2 separate regions of the Homo sapiens genome follow, and region 1 is linked to region 2. Evidence: promoter capture Hi-C in 16 types of primary human blood cells and fetal thymus (Javierre and others, 2016). All regions are on one chromosome and are shown on one strand. The core of a region is centred on a gene start or on the middle of the fragment in contact, and the rest is flanking DNA. Distances in the headings are between cores, read along the strand shown.

Region 1 (4,769 bases), core at 899-3,398, 110 kb before region 2:
AATGGAAATGTTGATTTCTGATCAATCTGCAGAATTTAAAGACTTAAATTCTGGGCAATATCGTGAGACCTCGACTCTACGAAAATCTTTAAAAATGAGCAGAGTGTGGTGGTGTGTGCCTATAGGCCTAGCTACTTGGGAGGCTGAGGTGGGAAGATTGCTTGAGCCTGGGAAGTGGAGACTGCAGTGAGCTGAGATCACACCACTGCACTCCAGCCTGGGTGACAAAGCAAGACCCTGTCTCAAAAAAAAAAAAAAAATTGGCTATATTAAAATTTTTTTTCAATAGAAAAAAAAAACCATGAAACTCTAGATCTAGAGCAAAATTATAAAGAGACCTAATCACTTCGACCCCTGTTGGGTCCTGGCCATGACGAGCCCAGTGTGGGAATATTCATTTGGGGGCCAAAGGCGTTGAGCTGGTGTAGTCCTGGGTCACTCCCGGGTTCTCGGGAGTTTCATTCTTCCCTCTAGGCCTCAGTCTTCCCATCCGTACAGTGGGGACGGGGGCCTCTAAGGAGGTCTGAGCCCTCCCAGCTGCAGTGCTACAGGGCTTCCCAAGGGTCTTCGCTTGGCCTGACTTCACGAGCAGCTCCAACCCCTCCTCTGCTTCCCCCAGACCATGTCTGTCCCAGAGAGCCACCCCCAGGAGTCCTCCCTCAGGTCTGTTCCCTCTCATCCCAGCCCCTCATTCGGCAGCTATTCCATGCCTGCTGTATACCAGGATGTCCAGAACAGAGCTCAGCCCCCCAAATCTGCCCCTCCTCTCTCTTCCAGGAATGCCCCATGCCCCCACTGCCCATACCTACCCAACATCCAAGCAAGAACTGGGGGCATTCTGGGCCCTTTCCTCCTCACCACACCCACTCGAGGCCTCCCCATAGGCTTTTCTCTCCATATTCTGGCCTCTCCTCTCCAACTCCCCAGCCCCAGCCTCCTCCCCACTGCCTCTTCCCCACCGCATGCATTCTCCTCGCTGTATCTCACACCCCTCACCTCCCTGCTTGAAACCGTCCATGGCTCCCTGTTCAAGATAAAAGTTGACCTAACTGAAGACCGCCTTGGAGGCCCTCCCACTGCTCCCCTAGCACTGCCCCAGCACTTCCCTCCTTCCCAGAAGGAAGATGCAGCTTCCGAGACAAGCTGCTGGTGCGCTGGCCTCTGGGCCTTAGCCCATGCCGTTTCCTCTGCCTGGGCTGCCTCTCTCCTCCCGGTCATGCAGGCTGCTCTCACTCATCCTTCAAGGCTCAAAATGCACCTTGGTTTGGACACCTCTGACTTCCCAGTTAACTCTGCCCTTTTACTTCTCGGCACCTGGACCCCCTCCCTATCTCCCTAGGTGTCTTGGCAAATAGAACACTTCCCCCGGCTGAGGCACACCCATCCTTCAGGGTCACCTCTTCTAGGAAGCTTTCCCTGACCTCCCAGAGTGGGTTAGAGGACTCCTCTGGGCTCCTCCAGCTCTGGATTACCGCCACTGAAGCACACATCACATTAGCAAACAGCAACAAGCCATGGGCCAGGCTTCCCCATCAGACCGGGAGGTCCTCGAGGGAGTGAACTGGGCCTGGTTTGCCTCGGTGCACCCTCATGTCCAGATAAACCCTGAGGTGTTTTTTGGTTGAAAATCGGAATGCCTAGCCCTGCATAAAATGCTCCTGCCCCAGTCCCTCCAACTAGCTGCCCACAGCTGCAGCCTGGCTACGGGCTACGGTCCCAGCAGGAAACGGGCTCCAGCTGGAAGGCCCTGTGGCTCTTCCCTGAGCGAGGCCGGCCCCAGCCCCCAGGCCCTACCTGGCCTTGCTACCTGTAGATCAGCTCTTCAGCCAAAAGGCAGTTGAGCTCAGCAGCTTGGTGCTGGGTGGGTGCTGGGTGAGTGCTGGGTGAGTGCTGGGTGGGTGCTGGGTAGGTGCTGGGGCCAGGCTGGGAAAGAACGAGAAGCAGGGGTGGAGCATCAAAGGCAACCCAGGGAGTGGGCTCGCAGGGATGAGGGAGGAGCTGCCTCCTCTTGCTCACCTGGCTTTTCAGATTCAGGAGACCTGGATGATCCTGCTGTGGAAGTCGAGGAGGGTGAGATGTCGCTGGTGACGCTCCCAGGAGCCATGAGACCGACAGGTGCAGCCAGCAGACCCCTCACCCGGGTGTGAGGCTGCTGGGCCTGCCCACTAGGCTTATATACCAGCAGCCCACCCCCACCACTCCAATCAGCCCTGATTGGGCTGGGAGTGCTCCAAGCTGCTGACTGGGGCTGGAGGTGTGGAATGGGGCACAGCATCCTGCCTTCTGTAGGGAGCCCCAGCTGGACTACCCACTCCTGTGTAAGCTTGGGGGTGTCGCTTGACTTCTCTGGGTCTCAGTCCCCATGGTGCAATGTTGGGAGCTGAGATGCTTGATCTCGCCTGTGCCCTCTGCCCACCAGGGGCTGGAGATGCTGATGAGGAATTGGGGTCACCTGTGTTGTCAGGGAGGCCGCTGAGGCGGCCCTCTAATCCTACCAGGTGGGCAATGGGCTGCCCCACGCCACTGCTGGCCTCAATTTCTCAAAAAGTAGCAGTTGGAGGCAGCCCAACTGCTACTTTTGCCCAGAGCACATGCCCCTCAATCAGAGTAGCCCCTTCTGAGGCCAGCCAGGCTCTCTGGGCCTATGCCCTCCTTTGGTTTTGTTTTTAAAGAAATAAATCAATAACGGAGGATGCTTCACAAAAGTCTTCATAGATAAGGACAACATCCACTGGGACAATGGACAAAGAATATAAACAGGCAATTCACCAGCCTAAAGGGTGAGGAACAGAAACAGGAAAATGGACACTCAACTTCCTTGGCATTTGAGAAAATTCAAATTGAAACAATGGTGAAATACTACTTTTTCCCATCAAATTGACAGACAAAAAAAAAAAACTTTCCAAGCAAACACCCAAGGCCTGGCTAAATCACACCCTTTCTGCAGAATATTCTGCAGCCATCTAAAATGACAAGGTGGGCTGGTGCGGTGGCTCAGGCCTGTAATCCTAGCACTTTGGGAGGCTGAGGTGGGCGGATCACCTGAGGTCAGGAGTTTGAGACCAGCCTGGCCAACATGGTAAAACTTCATCTCTACTAAAAATACAAAATTAGCTGGGCGTGGTGGTGTGCACCTGTAGTCCCAGCTACTTGGGAGGCTGAGGCAGGAGAATCACTTGAACCTGGGAGCTGGAGACTGCAGTGAACCAGGATCGAGCCATTGCACTCCAGCCTGGGCAACAAGAGCGAAACTGTGTCTCAAAAATAAGTAAATAAAAATAAAATAAAATAATATAATATAATATAAAATGACAAGATGGATTAAAACAAGGATGAGAGGCCAGGCATGGTGGCTCATACCTGTAATCCCAGAACTTCGGGAGGCTGAGGCAGGAGGATCGCTTGAGCCCAGGAGTTCAAGACCAGCCTAGGCAAAAAAGTGAAATCCTGTCTCTACCAAAAAATACAAAAATTAGCTGGGCATGGTGGTGTGCACCTGTAGTCCCAGCTACCTGGGAGGCCGAGGCAGGAGGATTGCTTGAGCCTGGGAGGTCAAGGCTGCAGGGAGCTGTGATCACACCCCTGCACTCCAGCCTGGGCTACAGAGTAAGACCCTGCCCCCCCCAAAAAAAAGGGGGAGGGAAAGAAAAGAAAACAAACAAGAATGAGGCTGTATTTCACACTCAGCAAAATGACAAAGATGTAAGTGTCTATCAATAGTGAGTGACTAGGATTCAAGGAAAGTATAGCTGCTGGGGGGTGGGGAGTGAGCTGGTAGCCGCCTTAGAAAGCAATTCAGCGATGTTTCATACAACTAAGGAGGGACTCACTCCACAACCCACCTATTCCACTCTAGGCGTAGATCTGAGACAAACATATACACTTACGTGCAAAGATGTTTATTTCAATCTTAGCAGAAATTCAAAACAACATAAATGCCCATCAGGTGGAGAGTGAACAAGTAAACTGTGGCCTATTCGCACAGTGGAGTAGTATGCAGTAGTGAAAAGGAGTGAACCAGAATGTATCGGAGAGTACACCCCAACTACTGAGAAGACAAAACTTGCGTGTGTGTGTGTGTGTGTGTGTGTGTGTGTGAAGGCACAATAGTTCTTTTTAATTTTTAAAAAATTTTTTTGTTTTTTTATCTTACCAGTCACAAGCAGTAGAAAAAAGTTCTGAATGGATTCATACCAAGGTAATAGTAGAAGTGGTTACCTCTGAGGAAGGGATGGGTTTTAAACAGCATACATTCTTCTCTAGGTAGTCTCTTTATTGTGGAATTTTCCCAGAGGGCTCTCCATCACCAGAGATCTGGACTCGGGGAGGCTGTGGTCATCAAAGTGTTCTAAAGTGAAGTCAGATTTCACTCCCCCGCTTAGCATCCTGCATGGCTCCCCACTGCCCGTGGGTGAAAGTTCATGCTCTTCAGTCTGACTTAAGGAGCCTCCTCCCCGCTTGAATCCCACAATTCACCCACACTGCGGCTCCTGGAATGGGCCATGTGCTGATATCGGGCCCCTTTTGTCTCCTCTGTGTGTGTTGAATTGATGCAGAACTGCCCCCAATTTTTCACTCCTGCCCATTTGCAATGTAACTTTGCAACCCCTCTCACATTTCTTGTTTGTTTGTTTGTTTTTTGAGACAGGGTTCCACTCTGTCGCCCAGGCTGGAGTGCAGTGGTGCAATCATAGCTCACTGCAGCCTCGACCTTCTGGGCTCAAGTGATCTCCTACTTCAGTCTTCCAAGTGGCTAGGACTCAGGCACA
Region 2 (4,775 bases), core at 880-3,379:
TTTATACCATTTGGCCAGGCACAGTGGCTTACACCTGTAATCCTAGCACTTTGGGAGGCTGAGGCAGGAGGATTGCTTGAGCCCAGGAGTTCAAAACCAGACTGGGCAACATAATGAGACCCCGTCTCTACAAAAAATTTTAAAAATTAATTGGGCATGGTGACATACACTTGTGGTCCCAGCTACTCAGAAGGCTGAGGTGGGAGAATCCCTTGAGCCCAGGAGATTGAGGCTGCAGTGAGCTATGATCACACCACTGCACTTCAGCCTGGATGACACAGCAAGACCCTGTCTTAAAAAAAATAAGTCTTAATGCCATTTTTATTACAAGTATTGTTACAGTTCAAATACCAAAGCATTTACTATTAGAAAGAAACCAAGGGAAAAAACTAGTTACTATGTCTTAATTACCAACTACCATTTTAAGGTATAATTTGAAAATTAAATTGATTGAATAAATGAAAAATAAATCAGTTGTTCAGGAAACTGCCTTTGTTGTAGGGCAGTGTGAACCGAATCAGGCTGCAGTGTGATGCAGAGGTAGTTGGTTGTTTCCACTTTAGTGAGTGTCAGTTTTTAGAAGGATAGATTTTGACCAGAGAACAGGAAAACTGGCCACACCTCCCTCTCCCCAAGGCAAACCCACTTTATAGTTTACCATCACATTTTCATTTAACAAACATCCAAGTAGCATTCACAAAGTGTAAAGCCCTGTGGTGGGGAGGGGCACAAAGATAAACAAGTTCTGTACAGACCCTCACAGAGAGAAAGAAGGGCACCTAATAATGGAAGGGAACAAAAGCGGTAAGGAGTAGGGACAAGACACCCAAAGAGGGTGGAGAGGGGCCTCTGAAACCTTGGGCCCAGCTGGGCCTGGAGGGTGGGGCGAGCTCACCAAGCTCAGGGCATCAGGTGTGGCTTTGTGGTAGGGCTGGTGGTCACATACCTTCCCCCAGCATCTCCATGGGGAGTGTGGGCCCGTGTGAATGCAGGAGGCGAGCTCTGCACCAGGGGAGCTCAGGACACAGCCAGGTTGCTCAGGCTCTAGGCCTGGCTTTTCCTGTTTCTTGCAGGTGAGGTTGCCTGACCTCTGTACCTGTTAACTTGTCTTTTAAAAATGGGATAGTGGTGTCTACCTCACACAATGATGGTAATTATGAAGTTCAGACATGTAGTGCTAAAATGGTACCTGGCTTGCAAGAGTGCTGTGTGAATGTGGCCCATGGCAACAATCTGTTTGCAAGCGTCACAAAGATAGCTTGTCTCAGCAAAGGAATAAGGGCTTAGGTGTTTCTCTTTAACTTTTTAAAAATTGAGCTAAAAGCCACCATTTAACCATTTTAAAGTGTACAGTTCAGTGGTTTAGTACATTTACAGTGTGCAGCCATCATCACTAATTCCAGAAGTTTCCATTTCTTTTTTCCACTCCAAAAAGAATCTCTCCACCTGTTAGCAGTCACTTCAATTACTCACCCCATCCCCTAGCAACCATTCATCTACTTTCCGTGTCTGTGGGTTCGTCTATGCTGAACATTTCACATAAATGGAATCATACAGCACGTGGCCTTTTGTGTCTAGCTTCTTGCTTAGCATACTGTTTTGAAGGTTTATCCATATTGTAGCATGTACTTCATTCCTTCTTATGGCCATCCTATGGATATACCTCATTTTGCTTATCAGTTGATGCACATTTCAAGGGTTTATTATTATTCTCTGGTCCTCAGGTTCTGTAACTCCAAACCATGGCACCCTGCCATAAGCGGGGCAGAACATACCCAACACCTCTATCTGGCCACAGCTCACTTTGGTTCTTCCTAACCCTCTGGAGGAGGCAGGGCCTATTTTTCCTATGAGAAAACTGAGGCCTAGAGATATGGAGACCTGCGGAAGATCCCACATTTCACGGGAAAACCGGAGACTTTCTACACTGGATTCAGGGACTACTGGGCCGAACAAAGAAATCCCGCCTTTCACCAAGCCCAGAACTGGGCGGGGCGTGGATTTGCTCGCTGCCCCTCCCAGAATTGGACGAAAACGAGGTGGGGCCAGCAGGCGCTCGGCAGGGCGGGCTCGCTCTTAACACGTGACAGCGCTCAGCCAATTGGCGCGGGGCGTCCGTAGCCACGGCAACAGGTTGCTTCTGCAGTCTGAGCTGAGCGCCTTTCGCACGACTTGGAGTTACGGTTTATCTGATACCCCGGTACCCCTACGCAAGCAAGCCCACATCGACACACATTCACACACGCCCTTCAGCACCCCCTCCCAGCACCACGACCATGGACGACGACTATGAAGCGTACCACAGTCTGTTCTTGTCGCTGCTCGGTAAGCCCCGGGAAGAAGCGTCTGCAGGGAGCGCTCAGCGCCCTAAGGACGCGTGAAAGTGGGGTGAGGGCAAAAACTCAGCCACAGATATTGTGCCGACCCCCTCTGGGTGAAGGGTTGCCATGGAGTCGGGGGCAGGTCATGTACATTTCTGAGATTTCTATCTGAGCCTAGTTGGAGGAACCAGAGGCCCGACCCATGTGACGGGAGCCCTCCAGCTCGCCCTGTTTCTCTGCAGGACATTAATGTATTCAGTACTGGAGGAGAGGCATGGAGAAGACGTCAGTCTTCAAGGTTTTGGCAGTAATGTGCTGGGGACCAAGTTCTTGGCAAAGCAATGCAGCTTCACGGGTAAAGGACAGAGATAAATGGATAATTACAGAATAAGAAGGGGTAAATGCCGGGCCCAGGGATGACACCCAGGAGTAAAAGGTGTGCTGAGGGTATGGGATGGGGAGGAACAGTTCCAAGCTTTTGGAAAAGATCTTTACACTGGAGCTTAAAGGATAAAAAGGAGTTCTCCAAGCCAAAAGGGGAAGGAAAAGCATTTCGGGCAAGGAAACAGCATGACCCAAGAGGTCTGGTGTCTCTGGAAATGAGGTGAGAGAGGTCAGAAGGGACAAGATCATAAAAGATACTGCAAGCCAGGAGATGGAGAGGCCACTGGGAGTGGCAGGACTGGATTGGGAGCAGTCAGAAAAGACCTGAGACTGAGTTGGCAGACTCAGAATGTTGGTGTGGGGAGATGAGAGCTGGGGGCTATAAAGCTTGAAGACTGAAGGTCTTCTCCATGCCGCTTCTCCAGCACTGAACACATTAATGCCCAGTGGAGAAACAGGGAGAGCTGGAGAGGCTGGCCACCTTTCCCAGGCACACAGGTCAGGGCTCTGGTCAAATGCCCAAGCTAAAGATGCTGGGAGGTGAGGGAGAAGGCCCAGGCTAGAGGGAACTACGGGACTTGGGGGCTGGTTGGTCAGGAAACACAGAAGAGGCAAATAAAGATGGTTCTCAAGTTGGCAGCTGGGGGACCTGGTAGATGGAGATGTCTTCCACAGAGATAAGAGAACGTACTCAGAGGACCCAGTTAGTGGGGGAAGGGGCACAAAGACAAATCCAGTCTTGGTTGGTTGAGTTTAAGATCCTTGTCAGTAGCTGGGCACAGTATCTCACGCCTGTAATCCCAGCACTATGGGAAGCTGAGGCAGGAGGATTGCTTGAGCCCAGGAGTTTGAGAATAGCCTGGGCAACATAGTGAGATCCCATCTCTACAAAATTGTTTTTTAAAGTTAGCCAGGCCTGGTGGGGTGGCTCACGCCTGTAATCCCAGCACTTTAGGAGGCTGAGGTGGGTGGATCACGAGGTCAGGAGATCAAGACCATCCTGGCTAACACAATGAAACCCCGTCTCTACTAAAAATACAAAAAATTAGCCGGGCATGGTGGCAGGCGCCTGTAGTCACAGCTACTCAGGAGGCTGAGGCAGGAGAATGGCATGAACCAGGGAGGTGGAGCTTGCAGTGAGCCAAGATCATGCCATTGCACTCCAGCCTGGGTGACAGAGCAAGACACCATCTCAAAAAAAAAAAAAAAAAAAAGGTTAGCTAGGCTTAATGGCATGCACCTGTAGTCCCAGCTACTCAGGAGGCTGAGCTGGGAGGATCATTTGAGCCCAGGAGTTCAAGGCTGCAGTGAGCTATGATTGAGCCACTGTACTCCAGCTTGGGGAACAGAGCAAGACCCTGTCTCAATTAAAAATAAATAATAAAAAAAGATCCCCGGCCGGGCGCCGTGGCTCACGCCTGTAATCCTAGCACTTTGGGAGGCTGAGGTGGGCGGATCACCAGGTCAGGAGATCGAGACCATCCTGGCTAACACAGTGAAACCCCATCTCTACTAAAAATACAAAAAATTAGCCGGTCGTGGTGGCAGACACCTGTAGTCCCAGGTACTCGGGAGGCTGAGGCAGGAGAATGGCGTGAACCCGGGAGGCAGAGCTTGCAGAGAGCCGAGATCGTGCCACTGCACTTTAGCCTGGGAAACAGAGCAAGAGTCCGTCTCAAAAAAAAAAAAAAAAAAAAAAACAAAAAAAAACCCTGTAAGCCATCCAAGTGGAGATGTTTTAGGAACAACTGGAGGTATAAACTTGGAGCTAATTCCAAGTCAAAAATATTGGTATGGATGTCCCCAGCATACAGAAGGTCATAGAAACATGAGAATGGAAGGGATTATTTAAAAAGAGAAGAGACCCTGGGTATAAGCCTGGAAGCAACAACCTTTAAGGAGTAATCAGGAAAAGAGGGGCCCAAAAACAATAGCCGGAGAGGTAGAATTGGACATAGCAAGAGATTGAATCAAGCCAAGAGCAGGGAGAATTTCAAGAAAGAGTAGAATTGTTTCCAGACACCTATAGGCTGTCTGAGAAAAGAGAGAACAAGTGTGTTTTCTGGGACA

Evidence for each region. The method cuts DNA at HindIII sites, captures the fragments that hold promoters and counts their contacts. A CHiCAGO score of 5 or more calls a contact.
Region 1: the fragment with the promoter of H1-8 here is called in contact with the fragment with the promoter of EFCAB12 in region 2 in 3 of 17 cell types (M1 macrophages, M0 macrophages and endothelial precursors); the score reaches 9.0 in M1 macrophages.

Annotation. Positions count from the first base shown.
Region 1 is chr3:129,540,554-129,545,322 of GRCh38, reverse strand. H1-8 (H1.8 linker histone) reads right to left here and starts at 2,148. Exons shown (of 5, transcript NM_153833.3): 1 at 2,017-2,148. The coding sequence starts at 2,104. RefSeq lists an enhancer at 2,108-2,609. The HindIII fragment of the contact is 913 bases long and covers 1,413-2,325 here.
Region 2 is chr3:129,425,990-129,430,764 of GRCh38, reverse strand. EFCAB12 (EF-hand calcium binding domain 12) reads left to right here and starts at 2,129. Exons shown (of 9, transcript NM_207307.3): 1 at 2,129-2,325. The coding sequence starts at 2,277. RefSeq lists a silencer at 1,943-1,992. The HindIII fragment of the contact is 3,479 bases long and covers 1-2,798 here.